Linked DNA regions of Homo sapiens: regions 1, 2, 3, 4, 6 and 7 are each linked to region 5. The links are contacts of gene promoters, found by promoter capture Hi-C in human tissues and cell types (Jung and others, 2019). All regions are on one chromosome and are shown on one strand. Each heading gives the region's core, a stretch centred on a gene start or on the middle of the fragment in contact. The rest is flanking DNA. Distances are from core to core; before and after follow the strand shown.

Region 1 (2,700 bases), core at 154-2,653, 250 kb before region 5:
AGTTAACTTGAATTGTTTGTGCTTGTCTTGTTGGTTTTAACCCTACTTATATACAAGAATTCAAAAGTATTTTCAAGCCCTATCATTTAGTTGTAAAATATACCCAACTCACATTTATAGACTGCCAACTAACTTGAATGTTTGTACAGGCATTTCTGCTGTGATGCCATGTGTACCTAAATAAAACTCACACTCTATAAAATCACACACTAAATTAAATTAACAGGGCTATAGAAAAAAAGAGTTATAGGCTTACCTCTCAAAATCTATAGACTTTTGTGACTAGAAAGCACTAAAAAACAGCAATAATATCATATAAACAGTATTACTGTTAAATCTCTCTGCTAGCATCATAGTCCGTGGATGCTTTGCAGCCTTAAGCCCTGGGACCTCTGCTGCTTCCTTTAAGATGCAGGTACTTGATTCATTTGCTTCTCAAAGAGATCAGATACATCAGAATTAAAAAGGTATTTCAGGATGGGAGGAAGGGGGTAAGAGATGTCTCTGCAGCTTCTTCAACTGCACTCTGATTCCTCAGATAGCTTACTATAATGGAGTAAATATTTTTGAAGCCATTAAACTAGCCACTCTAAAGGAAGCGGTTTTTAAGATTTTCAACTTTGTTATAAGGTTTTATATTGCTAAGGGTTCTCTTTGATTATGAGAAAATTTACCCCTGGTAGCTTCAAAATAATACCTTGTTGGGAAAAACTGCATTCCATAAATACACACTGTAGAACAGATTGTACCTTTCTTGGCATCTTGCATTTGTTTCATGATCTCCTCTCTTTCTGCTTGTTCAGTGGCTGTTGTGACACGGAATGATCCTTCTCTTGTAAAAGTGGTCCGACTAGCATCAAAAGTAGCAGTCACTCCACATTCCTTCTCCCGCTTCTGCTTGCGCTCTAAACAGGCTGCAAAAGCACAGCCTACTGCATGGCTCAACCTTTCACCCTGTAAGAGCAGATTTTAAAAGCTTTTCAGAATTACACTACTAACAATTACATACAAATAAGTCTTTTGTTTTGTTTTGTTTTTGAGACAGAGTCTTACTGTTACCCAGGCTGGAGTGCAGTGGCGCAGTCTCTGCTCACTGCAACCTCTGCCTCCGGGCTCAAATACTTCTCGTGCCTCAGCCTCCTGAGTAGCTGGGACTACAATCACGCACCACCACACCTGGCTAATTTTTGTATTTTTAGTAGAGATGGGGTTTTGCTATGTTGGGCAGGCTGGTCTCCAACTCCTGGCCTCAAGTGGTCTACCCAATTCAGCCTCCCAAAGTGCTGGGATTACAGGCATGAGCCACCACACTCGGCCCAAATGTCTGTTTTTATGAAAGCAAGATGTTGCAAATTCCAGCTTAAAATTGTTTTAATAGATTAGTATGCCATATTAATTTAAATGAATAAATTTTCTAAGGTAGTGCTTATGATGGTTCAATTCACTGTTACAAGCCTTGGGGTAAAGTGATAACCAGCAACCTGTGCTTTTGTAAGCAGCCATGGAGAACTCTTTATCACTTAGGCTCTGTCATGTCAGCCCTGGCCAACAGCTTAGAAGACTCTATGCAAGGTTTCAAGCCTTGACATGCAAGCTTCTAGTTGCCCTTTGGGGAAGCAGTGGGAATATTTACCAGCCACTTCTAAGAAACTACTGGAAAGGCAAGGCAAATTTCAGGAGCTTAATGCACTGTTAATATGTCTAGGAAAAAAAGGTGCAAACTTAAAACTTCTGATAAACAAATATAATTCCAGTGATTAAAAAGGAATGAGGCTGGGCATGGTGGCTCACATCTGTAATCCCAGCACTTTGGGAGGCTGAGATGGGCAAATTGCTTGAGCCCAGGAGTTTGAGACCAGCCTGGATAACACAGTGAGACTCTGTCTCTACCAAAATAATAAAAAAAATTAGGCCAGGTGCGATGGCTCACACCTGTAATCCCAGCACTTTGGGAGGCTGAGATGGGTGGATCATGAGGTCAGGAGCTCGAGACCAGCCTGCCCAACGTGGCGAAACCCCGTCTCTACTAAAAATACAAAAATTAGCCGGATGTGGTGGCGGGTGCCTGTAATCCCAGCTACTTGAGAGGCTGAGACAGGAGAATTGCTTGAAGTCGGGAAGTAGAGGTTGCTGTGAGCTGAGATGGCGCCATTGCACTCCAGCCTGGGCAACAAGAGCAAAACTCCGTCTCAAAAAATAAATAAAAATCAAAATAAAGGCCGGGCACAGTGGCTCATGCCTATAATCCCAGCACTTTGGGAGGCTGAGGTGGGCGGATCACCTGAGGTCAGGAGTTCAAGACCAGCCTGACCAACATGGAGAAACCCTGTCTCTACTAAAAATACAAAATTAGCCAGGCATGATGGCGCATGCCTGTAATCCCAGCTACTCGGGAGGCTGAGGCAGGAGAATCACTTGAACCCAGGAGGTGGAGGTTGCAGTAAGCCACGATCGTGCCATTGCACTCCAGCCTGGGCAACAAGAGCAAAACTCCGTCTCAAAAAAAATAATAATTAAAAAAAAAGAAAAAGAAAAAATTAGTCGAGTGTGGTGGTGGTGTGTGTCTGTGGTCCTACTTGGGAGGTGGGAGGATCACTTAAGCCTACAGTAAGCTCTAATTGTGCCACTGCACTCCAGCCTGGGTGACATAATGAGACCCTGTCTCAAAAAACAAACAAACAAACAAAACTAACAATGAGA
Region 2 (2,700 bases), core at 83-2,582, 150 kb before region 5:
CTCCCAAAGTGCCACTGCGCCCAGCCAAAGTGCCTATTTTTATAGCAAAAAAAAAAAAAAGTAAGCAGAACTTTAGGTAGTCTCACAGAAAAATTAAGAGTCCAGGGCCTGACAAGAAGGAGAGGCCCTGACACATACCCTAGGTACCTCTGGTACCTCTGAAATACAATACTCTTGAAGTGGAAACTAGATTTAAACCAGCCCTTGAGAACCATAAAACAAAGCCTCAGATCATCTCAAGTCCATATTACAACAATGTCATCTACTCCTACTTTTAACTACCATCAGAGAGGAGAAAAACAAATCCTCTCTACAGAACAGTATCATCATAAAGAGCCTCTATTATTTCCCATATATGATGTTTGACATTCATTTTTAAAATGACCAGGAATGCTAGGAGACAGAACCAAATGACTGAAAATCAAGAGAAAAAAAGAAGACAATAGGAAAAGATCAAATAGGAGCTGGGCACAGTGGCTCATGCCTGTAATCCCAGCACTTTGGGAGGCTGAGGTGGGCAGATCACTTGAGGGCAGGAGTTTGAGACCAACCTGGCCAATATGGCAAAACCCTGTCTCTACCAAAAATACAAAAATCAGCTAGGCGTGGTGGCACACATATGTAATCCCAGCTACTTGGGAGGCTGAGGCACAAGAATTACTTGAACCCATGAGGCAGAGGTTGCAGTGAGCTGAGATTGTGCCACTGCACTCCAGCCTCAGTGACAGATCAAAACTCTGTCTTCAAAAAATAAAAAAAGAGAAAGATCAAATGGGGATCCAGGGATCCAGACATTGTTAATTACCACACACAGACTTTAAATAATTGTGATTAATATGTTCAGGAAAATAGAGGACAAGATGAGAATTTCACCAGAGAACTGGAATCTATGAAAACAAAAAAAAAGTTAAATTGAAAATCGAGAACTAAAAAATACATAATATAAAACTAACAATATAGCAGATGCTTTTAATAGCAGACTGAACATTAACTGAACTAGAAAAAAGGTCAACAGAAAATATCTAGATGGAGCACAAAGAAAAAGATAGAAAATACAGAAAAGAGCATGAGAGACATGTGAGATGCAGAGAAAGATCTAACATACAGTTATCTAGAATCCCAGAGGGAACTGAAAGAATGAGACAGAAGCAATATCAGAAGAGATATTCCAAACCTGACAAAAGACATCAAGCTACAGATCCTAGAGGATCTCCGGACCTGAAACATCTTAAATGATGAAAATCATAAAAAGCATGAAAGAAAACCACGTAAGCATCTTACTGAAAACTGCTAAAAACCGAAGACATTGCTTCTCTAATAAAAACAATGGGGGGCTGGGCACGGTGGCTCACATCTGTAATACCAGCACTTTGGGAGGCTGAGGTGGGCAGATCACCTGAGGTCAGGAGTTCGAGACCAGCCTGGCCAACATGGTAAAACCCTGTCTCTACAAAAAATACAAAAATTAGCCAGGCATGGTGGGACGCGCCTATAGTCCCAGCTACTGGGAGGGGCTGAGGCAGAGGAACCGCTTGAACTCAGGAGGCAGAGGTTGCAGTGAGCCAAGATCATGCCACTGCACTCCAGCCTGGGCGACAGAGTGAGACTCTGTCTCAAAAAAATAAATAAATAAAATAGAAACAATGAAGTCAGAAGGCAATAAAATGATATATTTAAAATGCTGAAAGAAAAGAACTGCCAACCTGGAATTCTATGCCCAATAAAACTATCCTTTTAAAATTAAGACAAAATTTCTTTTTTTTTTTTTGAGACGGAGTCTTCCTCCACACCATTCTCCTGCCTCAGCCTCCTGAGTAGCTGGGACTATAGGGGCCCACCACCATGCCCAGCTAATTTTTTATATTTTTTAGTAGAGACGGGGTTTCACTGTGTTAGCCAGGATGGTCTCGATCTCCTGACCTCATGATCCACCCGCCTCGGCCTCCCAAAAGGTTGGGATTACAGGCTTGAGCCACCTCACCTGGCTTAAGACAAAATTTCTAAAAATGCTTTCAGACAAAAATAGAACACTCATTACCAATAGACTTACACTTAAAAGAAAAGTGCAGTCTATGAAGAAAGAAAATAATCCCAGATGGAAGCACAGTAACACAGGAAAGAATCAACAATACATACAAGAAAGAAGAAATACATGCATAAAATTAAAAAACTATAATTTTTTTTGAGACAGGGTCTGGCTCTCTCGCCTACGCTGGAGTGCCATAGGGTGATCTTGGCTAACTGCAACCTCTGCCTCCGAGGCTCAAACCATCCTCCCACCTCAGCCTTCCAAGTAGCTGAGATTATAGGCACGTGCCACCACGCCTGGCTTTTTTGTTTGTTTGTTTGTTTGTTTGTTAGAGATGAGGTCTTGCCATGTTGCCTAGGCTGGTCTTGAACTCTGGAGCTCAAGTGATCCTCCTGCCTCGGCCTCCCAAAATGCTGAGATTACAGGTGTGAGCCACCATGCCCAGCCAAATAACTGTAATTTTTTTTTTTTTTTTTTTTTGAGACGGAGTTTCGCTCTTGCTGCCCAGGCTGGAGTGCAATGGCACAATTTCGGCTCACTGTAACCTCTGCCTCCCAGGTTCAAGCGATTCTCCTGCCTTAGCCTCCTGAGTAGCTGGGATTACAGGCATGAGCCACCATGCCTGGCCCAGAACTTTCTGAAACGAAAATGTTCAATATTTATGCTATCCA
Region 3 (2,737 bases), core at 47-2,546, 150 kb after region 5:
CATGGGAGTGCTGATAGCTATCTCTTCGACATACTGTTTTCATTTCTTTTGGCTATATACCCTGTAGTGAGATTGCTGAATCATATGGTAGTTCTATTTTTAATTTCCTGGGTAATTTATAGTTTTTGTTGCTATGATGCATTTCTCTTTAACACCCTTCCTGTTTATATTAAATAATATAAAAGCCATTTATTTTTGTATACTTAACATGTAATCAACTACCTACCAACAATTCTTAACTGTTTATAAATCACATCCCCACAACAATTTTCAAGCAACATTGTGTTACCTGGATTCATTACTTTATACAGAGCAATAATCATCATCATCATCCTCATTACATATAGTCTAAAATAGAGGTCAGCTGGGCATGGTGGCTCACGCCTATAGTCCTAGCACTTTGGGAGGTCGAGGCAGGATTGCTTGAGGCCAGGAGTTTGAGACCAGCCTAGACAACATAGTGAGACTCTTGTCTCTACAAAAAAAAATTTTTTTAAATTAGCCAAGCATGGTGGCACGTGCCTGTTCTAACTACTCAGGGGGCTGAGGCAGGAGGATCACTTGAGCCCAGGAGTTCAAGGCTGCAGTGACCTGATTGTGCCCTGTACTGCAGCCTGCGTAACAGATCGAGACTCTGTCTCTAAACTAAAAAACAAACTAAAAAAATAGATTTTATGGCATTTCATAAAGCTCTCCCACTTCTGTAACCTCCAACATGATATTATTTACAGAGTAGACATTTACTTTTTTGTTTTCAATACTTACAATGGTTTGTTGACCTTAAAAAATCATAAATTTTAATAGCTGAGAGGAACCTTAAAGAACTTGTCCAACTTCCTCATTTTTTCCAATGTTTTTTATGGTGGTGAAATATACATAACATAAAGTTTACCATCTAAAACATTTTTAAGTGTATAGTTCAGTGGTAGTAAGTAGACTTGCACAACCATCACCATCCATCTCCAGAACTCTCTTCATCTTGTGTGTCTGAACCTCTGTAAGCATACAGTAGCTTCCTACTGCCTCTTCCCTGATCCCTGGCACCCACCATTCCACTTTCCGTCTTTACGAATTTAACTACTCTAGGTATTTCATATAAGTAGTATCATACAGCATTTATCTTTTTGTGACTGGCTTATTTAACTTAGCGTAATATCCTCAAGTTTCATCCATGTTGTAGCGTGTGTCAGAATTTCCTTTCTGCTTAATTTTTTTTTTTTTTTTTGAGACTGAGTCTCACTGTATCGCTGAGGCTGGAGTGCAGTTGCGCAATTTTGGCTCGTTCCAACCTCTACCTCCCAGGTTCAAGTGATTCTTCTGCCTCAGCCGCCAAAGTAGCTGGGACTACAGGCATGTGCCACCATGCCCGGCTAATTTTTTTATATTTTTATTAGAGATGGGATTTCACCATGTTGGCCAGGCTGGTCTCAAACTCCTGACCTAAGGTGAGCCGCCCGCCTTGGCTTCCCAAAGTATTGGGATTACAGATGTGAGCCACTGCACCCAGCCCATTCCTGCTTAATGTTAAATGATATTCTATTACGGTATGTATATACCATGTTTTGTTTATCCGTTTGTCTATCAGTGGACACTTGGGTCACGTCCATCTTTTGGCTATTGTGAATTTGCTACTGTGAACATGGGCGTACCAATATCTCGAGATCCCACTTTCATTTCTTCTGAATATGTGCCCCGAAGTGGAATGGCTGGATCCCCTGTTAAGTGATATCAATTATCATATGATAATTAATTTTTTAAGGAACGGCCAAATTGTTTTCCATAGCAGCTGCACCATTTTACCTCCCTGCCAACCGTGTACAAGGTTCCAATTTCTCCACATCCTCACTAATACTTACTATTTTCTGTGATTTTGATAGTAGCTATCCTAATGGGTATGAGATGGTATTTCATTGCGCCAGTCTCCTCATTTTACAGAGTAAGAAACTGAGGGGAGAAATGGCTTGTTTACATGCAGAAGCTGACCAGTTTGCTAAATGACTGTTCAGTTATTGTCCAATTCTCGAAAGAGTCAGCTTATTTAATGACAGATTTCACTGAATTGATTCACTCAAACTTTGCCAGGTTTTCCTCATTGATATTCACTAGACTGCTTCACAAAAATCTTGTCTTTATTATCTACTTAACAAATACTTACAGGAAATTGTATTATTGGCTGGGCACAGTGGCTCATGCCTTAATCCAGCACTTTGGGAGGCCGAGGCGGGCAGATCCCTTGAGTCCAGGAGTTCAAGACCAGCCTGGACAACATCTCTACAAAACCCATCTCTACCAAAAAGACAAAAATTAGCCAGATGTGGTAGTGTGCACCTGTAGTCCCAGCTACTAGGGAGGCTGAGGTGAGAGGATTGCTTGAGCCCGGGGGAGGTTGAGGCTGCAGTTAGCTGTGAGTGTGACACTGCACCCCAGTCTGGGTGACAGAGTGAGACCCTGTCTCAAAACAAAACAAAAAACAACTTTTTTATGTTTGAAAATCATCATAATAAATGTTGGAGAAGACCCTGAATTTTAGACCTAGCTCTATTATTTAATAGTGTGTTCTTAGAAAAAGCCCTTAATCCCTCTGTAATAGAAATCAAATAACCTGCCTTATCGGCTTTAAAGCAGATGTTCTAAGGACCAAATAATATACTCTATAGGAATGTAATTTGAAAACCGTACCATTAATGAACGAGATAAGATAGTGCCATTATTTCCCCTCTTGGTGATTTCAGTATTA
Region 4 (2,758 bases), core at 54-2,553, 240 kb after region 5:
CAGAGTCTTGCTCTGTTGCCCAGGCTGGAGTGCAGTGGCACCATCTCAGCTCACTGCAAGCTCCTCCTCCCGGGTTCACACCATTCTCCCGACTCAGCCTCCCGAGTAGCTGGGACTACAGGTGCCTGCCACCACGCCCAGCTAATTTTTTTGTATTTTTTAGTAGAGATGGGGTTTCACCGTGTTAGCCAGGATGGTCTCCATCTCCCGACCTCATGATCCACCAGCCTCGGCCTCCCAAAGTGCTGCGATTACAGGCGTGAGCCACCGCGCCCGGCCGATTATATTTTTATATTTCATATTACACACTGACTTTAGAATCTGAACCTCAGAAAACGCCACTCCATCAAATTATACTCTCCCAGTGACAGATCCACTCTCAGTTCTTCCCCCATCCCACCCTCTTCCACTTGCTCTAGAGGTGATGGAAAGGGTCAGGATTTCTTCCACCATCTCTCCATGGAAGCTGTGCTGACCACAAGCATTTAGGATCTGACTTCCCCAGTTATGGAGAAAAAGAAAAGTGGCCATAGCCGTAACAGTAGTGACCTTCCCCGTCATGGTTTATAAGGGACTATTCCTCGGGTTCTTCATTCTTTCACTCACTCATGCATGGGTATGACCTATCTCAGGAGCTAGGCTTGAAGCCTCCTGGGGGTAAGGAGCATGTGGCACTCTGCTTTCCACACTCACATGGTTGACAGCACTGCAGCTGTTCCACAAATGGCCGGTGAGGACAGTTGGCCCTGCATTAACTGGCTGTTCAAAGAGTGCCATGCCTGTGTTCCTGGGCCTTCTCCTGCCTGTGTCTTGGGAACTGGGAGCATTCCTCTGTCTTCTTGGTGTTGTTTAACCCATGTTCTGCACTTAGAAAACAGTAAGTAATCTTGTTGGCCAACTGAGCCTGGGTAGGAAACTTTGGGGGCTTTGATAGCAATTAAGATCCACTAAGACTACAATGAGATAATACAATGGTAAAAGCTATTAAATACGCATCCCACTCTCTTCTTAAAGACCTCTTCTTCACCCCTAGTTTTTTTTGTTTTTTTGTTGTTGTTGTTGTTGTTAAGTTTCACCTTTTTAAATCTTTGAGTACTGCCTTAGGGAAACTGAGAAGATGGAGTCCTTGGTTTACAAATAGACCTGCTGAAACTGACGATTATGATGACTAATTATCAATGCAGGATGGCCAGTGGAAATGGAGAATGGGGTTTGTGCCTGACTCTTCCATTCAACAGCTGTGGGAACTTGGAGAAGGAACTTATCCTCTCTAAGCCTCAGTTAAAATGAGAGTTAGCACAGGTTTCCTTCCAAGCTTTAAATCCTTAACCATGGGATTATCGGAGATGCTGTTACTACAGTTACTATAAAACTGGGGCTGGATGATAACAGTCCGTAAGATCCTATCCAATTCTAAAAGTTGATTATTTTGTAAAATAGCACATCTGAAAAAATGTTGATTTATTAAACTCAGTTTATACATAACTTTTCAGAAATATGTAAATCCCAGTTTCACCCTTTTATGTTTATTAAGAACTTTCAATTAAAACTGACTTCAGGCCAGCCGCGGTGGCTCATGCCTGTAATCCCAGCACTTTGGGAGGCGGAGGAGGGCAGATCACCTGAAGTTGGGAGTTCGAGACCAGCCTGACCAACATGGAGAAACCCTGTCTCTACTAAAAATACAAAATTAGCCAGGTGTGGTGGCGCATGCCTGTAATCCCAGCTACTCGGGAGGCCGAGGTAGTAGAATCACTTGAACCCGGCAGGCAGAGATTATGGTGAGCCAAGATCGTGCCATTGCACTCCAGCCTGGGCAACAAGAGCGAAACTCTGTCTCAAAAAAAAAAAAAAAAAAAAAACTGACTTCAGGCCAGACACGGTGGCGCACGCCTGTAATCTCAACACTTTTTGAGGTTAGGGAGGCCAAGGCGGGTGGATCACCCGAAGTCAAGGGTTCAAGACCAGCCTGGCCAACATGGGGAAACCTTGTCTTTACTAAAAACACAAAAATTAGACGGGCGTGGTGGCAGACATCCATAATCCCAGCTACTCAGGAAGCTGAGGCAGGAGAATCGCTTGAACCTGGGGTGCGGAGGTTGCAGTGAGCCAAGATCACACCACTTCACTCCAGCCTGGGTAGAGTAAAAAACAGGAATCTACCAGATTCTATTTTTAAATAAAACAAAACGTTAAAAGAATCTAGCTTATACGTGCATTTTATAGTATGTGAATTATTTTTCAAAAAAGAAAGAATCTGGCTTATGAGGCAAGGTTGTGATTAACAGCATGAGGACTGGCTAAAGGCAACACAGTCCTCCTAGCCAAGTCCAATGCTAGGGTTCAGCCAGGATCTCCCCAAAACTCAGTTTTATAGTTTAGCCTGGTTTTGTAAGTTCAACACCTATTTGGGCAAAACAAGCATGCGGCCAACCAGGAAGCCTCACTTTGCCCTCCTCACAGTCTATATATATATATAGATATATGAAGAGAGAGAGAGAATCTCTGTCACCCAAGCTGGAGTGCAGTGGCATGCAATCCTCCTACCTCAGCCTCCCAAGTAACTGGGACTACAGGCACGTGCCACCGTGCCTGACTAATTTTTTGCATTTTTTTACAGAGAAGGGGTCTTGCCACATTGCCTAGGCTGGTCTTGAACTTCTAGGCTCAAGTGATCCTTCCGCCTCAGCCTCCCAAAGTGCTGGGATTATTGGCATAAGCCACCGCACCTGGCTGTCTTCACAAGTCTTGCCTGCAA
Region 5 (2,700 bases), core at 54-2,553:
ACCCTGCCACCTCAGCCTCCAAGTAAACTGGGATTATAGGCGTGAGCCACCTCACCCAACTTCCACTTCCCAGCTGTATGATCTTCAGAAAATCAGTTAAATTCTCTGGGCCTTAATTTACTACTACGGTTCTTGTAAGTATTAACAATTAGCTACTATTATTTACCTTCTTTAGTTCCTGAGACTTCTATGCACAGAATATACTTGATGTGTGCCACAGAACCTATACAAAGGTAATTACAACTAACAGGGAGTTGTATGATAATGACATGGGACATGGGACATGAGAGCATTTGGAAAGAGATAAAAAGGCTTACCTTGAGGACAGCCTTATTAGGAGCAGAGGCAAACACAGGTTTTGTGAGTTTGAAGCTTACGCATTTATAGGTTTCTCTAATTACCAAGATAGGAAATTATGAAATCAGGTACAAGGGCTTGGGAGGGGCCTAAAGCTTAAGTTTGATGAAAAAAAAAAACCACCTCTGGTTGGAACCAATAGCCTATGAAAAAGTAGAAAAAAGCCCAATGCATGGGGAGCGCCGGTAGTCCCTTGAGGTGTTTGAGAGGCTGAGGCAGGAAGATGGCTTTAGCCCAGGAGTTTGAGGCTTGTAAGTGCGCAGTGATGGTAAACCGCCGCTGTACTCCAGACTGGCAACGTAGTGAGACCCTGTCTCTTTAAAAAAAAAAAAAAAAAAAAAAAAAGATGAGAGGTAACACTTGCCTGACTGGGACAAAAATGAGAAACCAGTATAAGAAAATAATAACTATTGGCCGGGCGCGGTGGCTCATCGCCTGTAAATCCCAGCACTTTGGGAGGCCGAGGCGGGCGGATCACAAAGTCAGGAGTTCGAGAAATTAATAACTATTACCTCATTTGGCTATTTTTACACCTGTAAGGAATAAAGCTCAGAGGTCACACAGCTAGTAAGAAGCCAGCACCCTTCGATGTGGGAGTGATGTGGAGGATAGGCATATACAGAGAACACGAAAGCAAAACACCATGGTGCAGATTTTGAAAGAAAAGCCCTAAGATTAGTAATGAGTGTGAATTATTCAACAAAGTGATCAAAACCAACTCCAGTCCTGCATTCCTCTTCGCCATCAGGAGTTTGGAGCCTGGAGACTGCTAGCTGCCTGGTTGTTGTTGTTTTTTTTTTTTTCTGAGACGGACTTTCGCTCTGTCGCCCAGGCTGTAGTGCAGTGGCATGATCTTGGCCAACTGCAAGCTCCACCCCCCGGGATCACGCCATTCTCCTGCCTCAGCCTCCCGAGTAGCCGGGACGAACCAGTCCTGGCCCAGCCCATTCCGCGAGCCAGCAAGCTTCTGAAAAGCAAACCTAGGAAGTTGCTTTCCAACATAAAGTGGAGGTTTCAACACAGGAGACTTTAAGCAAGTTCCAGTGTGTCTATATTTGGTCTGGCTGATCGGCTGGACTCTGGCCTTCCCCGCTCACATTAGCAGACAGCTCTGCCCTAGTGGGCGTTTAGCCTGCGACGGCAGCCCGAGAGGAAGAGTTGGGCAGAGTTGCAGGGGTCTCCACAGCTGAGGCAGTTTGGCCGGATTATTTGGGTTCCTGCTCGGATGGCGGCGACGCTGATCCTGGAGCCCGCGGGCCGCTGCTGCTGGGACGAACCGGTGCGAATCGCCGTGCGCGGCCTAGCCCCGGAGCAGCCGGTCACGCTGCGCGCGTCCCTGCGCGACGAGAAGGGCGCGCTTTTCCAGGCCCACGCGCGCTACCGCGCCGACACCCTTGGCGAGCTGGACCTGGAGCGCGCGCCCGCGCTGGGCGGCAGCTTCGCGGGGCTTGAGCCCATGGGGCTGCTCTGGGCCTTGGAGCCCGAGAAACCCTTGGTGCGGCTGGTGAAGCGCGACGTGCGAACGCCCTTGGCCGTGGAGCTGGAGGTGCTGGATGGCCACGACCCCGACCCCGGGCGGCTGCTGTGCCGGGTGCGGCACGAGCGCTACTTCCTCCCGCCCGGGGTGCGGCGCGAGCCGGTGCGCGCGGGCCGGGTGCGAGGCACGCTCTTCCTGCCGCCAGGTGACTCACCTCCGCTAATTGTTCCCCTCTGCCCATCCCTGTTCCTGCGCTTTCCACTGTGTGTGTGTGTGTGTCCCCTTCGCCCCGCCCCGCTCTTTTCGCTTGTGTGTGTGTCCCTCCTCCCGCCCCACCACCACCACCCCGGGCTATGTTGCCCAGGTAGGTCTTGAACTCCTGGACCCAAGCTATCCTCCCGCCTCTGCCTCCCCAAGAGCTAGGATTGCAGGGTGAGCCACTGCGCCCGGCCCTTTGAGGGGAGTTACACTTATTTTTTTATTTTTATTTTTTTTCGTCCCTGCGCTTTTCATACGGAGAAAGGATGTAGCTTCCAACATTCCGGAGGTTAGTGTAAGGAGACAGGAATGGAATGGAAAGTTGGTTGGGGAATTGCCCCTGCCGCTCCAAAACTGAGAGGTCCCTCAAACCTAGTGCTCAGTTAAAAGACATTGTAAGGGCTGGGCGCGCTGGCTCACGCCTGTAATCCCAGCACTTTGAGAAGCCGAGGCGGGCGGATCACGACGTCAGGAGATCAAGGCCATCCTGGCTAACACGGTGAAAACTCGTCTCTACTAAAAATACAAAAAATTAGCCGGGCGTGGTAGCGGGCGCCTGTCGTCCCAGCTACTCGGGACGCTGAGGCAGAAGAATGGCATGAACCCAG
Region 6 (2,700 bases), core at 182-2,681, 170 kb after region 5:
AAAAGAAATAAAAATAGCCTTAACTGATGACATTCCATCATTGTGATTTGTTCCTGCCCCACCCTAACTGATCAATGTACTTTGTAATCTCCCCCACCCTTAAGAAGGTTATTTGTAATTCTCCCCACCCTTGAGAATGTACTTTGTGAGATCCACCCCTGCCCGCAAAACATTGCTCTTAACTTCAGCGCCTATCCCAAAATCTATAAGAACTAATGATAATCCACCACCCTTTGCTGACTCTCTTTTCGGACTCAGCCCGCCTGCACCCAGGTGAAATAAACAGCCACGTTACTCACACAAAGCCTGTTTGGTGCTCTCTTCACACGGACGTGCATGAAAATAACTTCCCTCCTAAGAATGCAGCCAACTCTGCATCTATGAAAAGAAGGTCTATCCCCCCATGTTTAAACTGTAGAAGGATGTCCATAACATATTGGGCCAAAAAAAAAAAAACCCCAAGCATACACCAAAAAAACAAAACAAACAACCCCCCCGCCCCCCCCGAATAATCCTTATATACCTAGTTTGTTTTTTTGGTGCATCTGTGTGCGTGGTTTTTTGTTTTGTTTTGTTTTTTTCGAGACAGGGTCTTGTTCCGTCACCCCAGGTTGGAGTGCGGTGGCATGTTCATAGATCACTGCAACCTTGAACTCCTGGGCTCAAGCAATCCTCCTGCATCAGCCTCCTAAATAGCCTGGCTAATTTTTAAATTTACTTATTTTTGTGGAGACAAGGTCTTGGTATTTTGCTCAGGCTGGTCTTGAACTCCTGTCCTTAAGTGATCCTCCCACCTCAGCATCCCAAAGTGCTGGGATTACAGGTGTGAGCCACTACAACGGGCCCATTTTTAAAAATGTAGTATGTGGGCCAGTTGTGGTGGCTTACGCCTGTAATCCCAGCATTTTTGGAGTACTTTCAAACCACGAGGTCAGGAGTTTGAGACCAGCCCGGCCAACATGGTGAAACCTTGTCTCTACTAAAAATACAAAAATTAGCCGGGCGTAGTGGCACACACCTGTAATCCCAGCTACTTGGGAGGCTGAGGCAGGAGGATCACTTGAGCCCAACAGACAGAGGTTGCAGTGAGCTGAGATTACGCTACTGCACTCCAGCCTGGGCAACACAGCGAGACTCCGTCTCAAAAAAAAAAATGCAGTATGTGTGTATATGTGTGGAGTGGGAGTGTGTATACATATGTGGTGGCTGGTTGGTGTTTGGTGGTGGGAGTGTGTGTGGGTGTGAGGAGAAATGGGAATATATGTTGGGGGTGGGAGACTGACATCGTGTACATGTGGAGCAGGAGGAGGGTGTATGTTATGATGGGAGTACTGACGGGGAGATGACAGTGTGTCAAGAGTGTAAGAGGGGTGAGTGTGCACCTGATGCTGGTGGGAATGGAGGGGAAAGTTCTGTGAATGATGGGTAGCAGGTGAAGACATGCCAAGTGTTTGTGGTAAGTGAAGCTGAGCATATCTGTTGGGAACCAAGGCAAGTATGTGGAGATGTTTTTGTGACAGGAGGAAAGGGATGTACTGACATGAAGCGAATACGTGTACCGAAAAATCTGGAAGAACATACATTACCCCTTATAGACTTGTCGAATGGCTCAGCTATAATTTTAAAACCTTATTAGGGAAAGGCTCACTGAACACAATATTCATGTAATAACTTTAGATTCACTGAGGATCTCAAAAGATGGACATCTTCAATCACTGAATCTTTGCAGCAAAATAAACATGTTTTAAAGTTGTATTTCCCTTTTTATATCGTCCTGCTATAAAATGGTTGCTGTAAAATAGCCTTCATTTTACACAGGTGTGATGAATTATAGCTATTTCTTCAGTGAAACAAAATGTTTAGCTGAAAAGTGATCTTAAGAGAAAAACACTGCCAGATAACCTCCTGAACCCCATTTCAAGATTTTCTAAAAAAAAATTTTTTGAGAAACAGGGTCTCACTCTATCACCAGGCTGGAGTGCGGTGGGACGATCATGGCTTACTGCAGCCTCAACCTGCTGAGCTCAAGCGATGTCCCACCTTAGCCGCTGGGTGGCCACCTTAGTGCTGGGACCACAGGCGTGTGCCACCATGCCTGGCTAATTTTTAAAAGTTTGGGTGGAGATTGGGTCTATGTTGCCCAAGCTGGTCTCAAAATCTTGGCTTCAGGCAATCCTCCCTAAGTGCTGGGATTACAAGTGTGAGCCAAATCTGGTATCTAAATTTTTTTTTTTTTTTTTTTGAGATGGAGTCTCACTCTGTTGCCCAGGCTGCAGTGCAATGGCGCAATCTCGGCTCACTGCAACTTCCGCCTCCCAAAGCGATTCTCCTGACTCAGCTTCCCAAGTAGCGGGAATTACAGGCACGCACCACCACACCCGGCTAATTTTTGTATTTTTAGTAGAGACGGCGAGGTGGCTCACGCCTGTAATCCCAGCACTTTGGGAGGCCGAGGTGGGTGGATCACTTGAGGTGAGGAGTTCCAGACCAGCCTGACCAACATGGTGAAACCCGTCTCTACTAAAAAAATACAAAATTAGCTAGGCGTGGTGGCGCATGTCTGTAATCCCAGCTACTCAGGAGGCTGAAGCAGGAGAATCACTTGAACCCGGGAGGCAGAGGTTGCAGTGAGCCGAGATCGCTCCATTGCACTCCAGGCTGGGCAACAGAGCAAGACCCTCTCTGCCCGATAAAAATAAA
Region 7 (2,700 bases), core at 76-2,575, 140 kb before region 5:
TTAGTTTTCAACACACCTAGGTATCAATTATTAGAGAAACATACAAGTAAAATGTGGAAATACATATACAATGGAACATTATACAACAGTCAGTTGTTGTAAACTAGATTTACAAATACAGTATGCGCTTCCATAATTCCTTTTTTTGATCAAAAAAGAATAAATAGATTCACAGCATAATACCATTATACGGATTAAAAACACATACACACAAAACAATATGAAAATATTTCAAAAATAAGCACTTACTTACATTAAGCATATTAAATAGTTGGCCCTCCACATCCATGGGTTCAACCAGCTATGGACTGAAAATATGCCAGAGCCGGGCACAGCGGCTCACGCCTATAATCCTGGCACTTCGGGAGGCTGAGGCGGGCAGATCACCTGAGGTCCGGAGTTAGAAACCAGCCTGACGAAAATGGAGAAACCCTGTCTCTACTAAAAATACAAAATTAGCCGGGTGTGGTGGCGCATGCCTATAATCTCTGCTACTTGGAAGGCTGAGGCAGGAGAATTGCTTGAACCCAGGACACAGAGGCTGCAGTGAGCCGAGATTGTGCCATTGCACTCCAGCCTGGGCGACAAGAGAGAAACTATGTCTCAAAAAAGAAAAAAAAATATGCCAGAGAAAAAAAGGCTTAGCCATATGCAGTGGCTGACATCTGTAATTCCAACAACTCCAGAGGCTAAACTAGGAGGACTGCTTGAGGCCAGGAGTTTGAGCTTACAGTGAACAATGACTACACCACTGCACTCCAGCATGGGCAACACAGCAAGAGCCTGTCTCTAAAAAATAAACAGGCCAGGCATGGTGGCTCACACCTGTAATCCCAACACTTTGGGAGGCCAAGGCCAGTGGATCACTTGAGGTCAGGAGTTCAAGACCAGCCTAGCCAACATGGAGAAACCCCATCTCTACAAAAATAAAAAAATTAGCTGGATGTCGTGGCATCTGTAATCCCAGCTACTCGGGAGGCTGAGGCAGGAGAATCGTTTGAACGCAGGAGATGGAGGTTGCAGTGAGCTGAGATCGTGCCACTGCACTCCAGCCTGGGCGATGGAGTGAGACTCTGTCTCAAAAACAAAAACAAAAAAAAACAAAAAAGTAAAAATATATAAATGAATAAGCAAGCAAGTGAGCTAGCAAGTCATGAAGAGCAGACATGAAAGAACTTTAAATGCACACTACTAAGTGAAAGAAGCCAATCTGAAAAGGCTACATATACCATATGATTCCAACTATATGACATTCTGGAAAAGGCACAACTATGGAGACAGGAAAAGGATCAGTGGTTACCAAAGGTTAGGTGAGAGGAAGGGATGGACAGCCAGAGCACAGAGAATCTTTGGGGTAGTAAACCTATTTTGCATGATACTACAGTGGTGGATGCATGTCATTACATTTGCCAAAATCCTTGAAAGTACAACACCAAGAATAAACTCTAATGTAACCTAAGGACTTAGGGTGAAAATAATGTGTCAATGTGGGTTTATCGATTATAACAAATTATGAAACATATAATTGGTCTTCTTGCCCTTTCCTGACATATACCTCATAAAACCATTGGCACCTCTGGAGTGATGAGTATCTTTTACATGCTAATGAGATGACAGTGGCTGGACATCTCTAGATAGCTTCAAGGATAAGGGCTGGTCACCTGAAAGACCAAGGCATGATAAGAGGGTTGCCCCCAACCTCCAGAGAGGGAAGAGGAGCTGAAGGGTAAGCTGATTACAAATGGCCAATGACTTAATCAATCATGCCTATGTAATGAGGCTTCCATAAAAACCCGAAAGGACAGGGTTTGGAGAGCTTCCGGATAGATGAACACTTGGAGGTTCCAGGAGGGTGGCACACCTGAAGAAGGCATGGCATGCCCCTTTCCACATACCTTGCCCTATGCATCTCTTCCATCTGTCTCCTTTGTAATACCCTTTATGATAACCCAATAAATGTAAATGAAGTGTTTCCCTGAGTTCTGTGAGCCACTCTAGCAAATTAATTGAACCAAAAGAGGGAGCTGTGGTAACCCCAATTTATGGCTAATCAGCCAGAAGCACAGGACACAACGTGGGGCTTGCAATTTAAGTAGGGGATTGAGCCCTCAACCTGTGGGATCTGATTCTATCTCCAAGTAAATAATGTCAGAATTGAGTTAAAATGTAGGATACCCAGCTGGTGTCTGCCAAAGAATTGACTGGGTTGCTGGTAGATAGAAATCCCCACGCATTTTGGTGACCAGAGGTGCTGTGTTATACTGAGTTTGTATTGGTTTGATTTTTCTTATATCTCCTGTGTACTATTCTGGTAAGGAATGTTGACAGTAAGAAAGGCTGTGGGTTTGTGGGGGCAACAGGTATATGGAAACTCTCTGTATTTTTTTTGCTCAATTTTGCTATAAACCTGAAACTGTTCTAAAAAAATTAAGTCTTCCAAAACTAACAAAAAAAAAAACAGGGGATGGTACTCATGAACCAATAATGACTAACTGGCTATAAACAAACAAAACAAAGAAGTACAGATCTGGAAGGTTCATGTCAAAGGCACCAGAGCACATCCATGTGTACAACGGAAACCACTAACAAAATATGTAAGACTAAATTTTTTTTTTTTTTTTTTTTTTTTGAGACGGAGTCTCGCTCTGTCGCCCAGGCTGGAGTGCAGTGGCATGACCTTGGCTCACTGCAAGCTCCACC

Evidence for each region. Contacts are between HindIII fragments. The study calls those that stand out against the background at their distance.
Region 1: a fragment that was not itself captured here is called in contact with the fragment with the promoter of ACOT1 in region 5 in 2 of the 25 tissues and cell types used here (H1 embryonic stem cells and mesenchymal stem cells).
Region 2: a contact is called between a fragment that was not itself captured here and the fragment with the promoter of ACOT1 in region 5, in 1 of the 25 tissues and cell types used here (mesenchymal stem cells).
Region 3: a contact is called between a fragment that was not itself captured here and the fragment with the promoter of ACOT1 in region 5, in 1 of the 25 tissues and cell types used here (mesenchymal stem cells).
Region 4: a fragment that was not itself captured here is called in contact with the fragment with the promoter of ACOT1 in region 5 in 2 of the 25 tissues and cell types used here (H1 embryonic stem cells and dorsolateral prefrontal cortex).
Region 6: a contact is called between a fragment that was not itself captured here and the fragment with the promoter of ACOT1 in region 5, in 2 of the 25 tissues and cell types used here (dorsolateral prefrontal cortex and hippocampus).
Region 7: a fragment that was not itself captured here is called in contact with the fragment with the promoter of ACOT1 in region 5 in 1 of the 25 tissues and cell types used here (mesenchymal stem cells).

The regions. Positions count from the first base shown.
Region 1 is chr14:73,286,361-73,289,060 of GRCh38, forward strand. It overlaps NUMB (NUMB endocytic adaptor protein), which reads right to left. Exons shown (of 13, transcript NM_001005743.2): 9 at 750-954. Among named protein-coding and RNA genes, the nearest start is that of PAPLN-AS1, 42 kb to the left of the region's middle. The HindIII fragment of the contact is 3,412 bases long and covers 1-2,700 here.
Region 2 is chr14:73,382,402-73,385,101 of GRCh38, forward strand. The region is part of intron 2 of NUMB (NUMB endocytic adaptor protein); the gene reads right to left. Among named protein-coding and RNA genes, the nearest start is that of NUMB, 75 kb to the right of the region's middle. The HindIII fragment of the contact is 4,633 bases long and covers 1-2,700 here.
Region 3 is chr14:73,684,253-73,686,989 of GRCh38, forward strand. The region is part of intron 5 of DNAL1 (dynein axonemal light chain 1); the gene reads left to right. Among named protein-coding and RNA genes, the nearest start is that of PNMA1, 29 kb to the right of the region's middle. RefSeq lists an enhancer at 1,276-1,445. The HindIII fragment of the contact is 5,854 bases long and covers 1-2,737 here.
Region 4 is chr14:73,779,895-73,782,652 of GRCh38, forward strand. It overlaps a transcript of MIDEAS not described here. Among named protein-coding and RNA genes, the nearest start is that of MIDEAS-AS1, 6.1 kb to the right of the region's middle. The HindIII fragment of the contact is 5,805 bases long and covers 1-2,758 here.
Region 5 is chr14:73,535,840-73,538,539 of GRCh38, forward strand. It overlaps ACOT1 (acyl-CoA thioesterase 1), which reads left to right and starts at 1,304. Exons shown (of 3, transcript NM_001037161.2): 1 at 1,304-2,039. The coding sequence starts at 1,583. The region is part of intron 1 of HEATR4 (HEAT repeat containing 4); the gene reads right to left. The HindIII fragment of the contact is 14,338 bases long and covers 1-2,700 here.
Region 6 is chr14:73,708,874-73,711,573 of GRCh38, forward strand. No RefSeq gene overlaps it. Among named protein-coding and RNA genes, the nearest start is that of PNMA1, 4.2 kb to the right of the region's middle. The HindIII fragment of the contact is 7,422 bases long and covers 1-2,700 here.
Region 7 is chr14:73,398,959-73,401,658 of GRCh38, forward strand. The region is part of intron 2 of NUMB (NUMB endocytic adaptor protein); the gene reads right to left. Among named protein-coding and RNA genes, the nearest start is that of NUMB, 58 kb to the right of the region's middle. The HindIII fragment of the contact is 5,297 bases long and covers 1-2,700 here.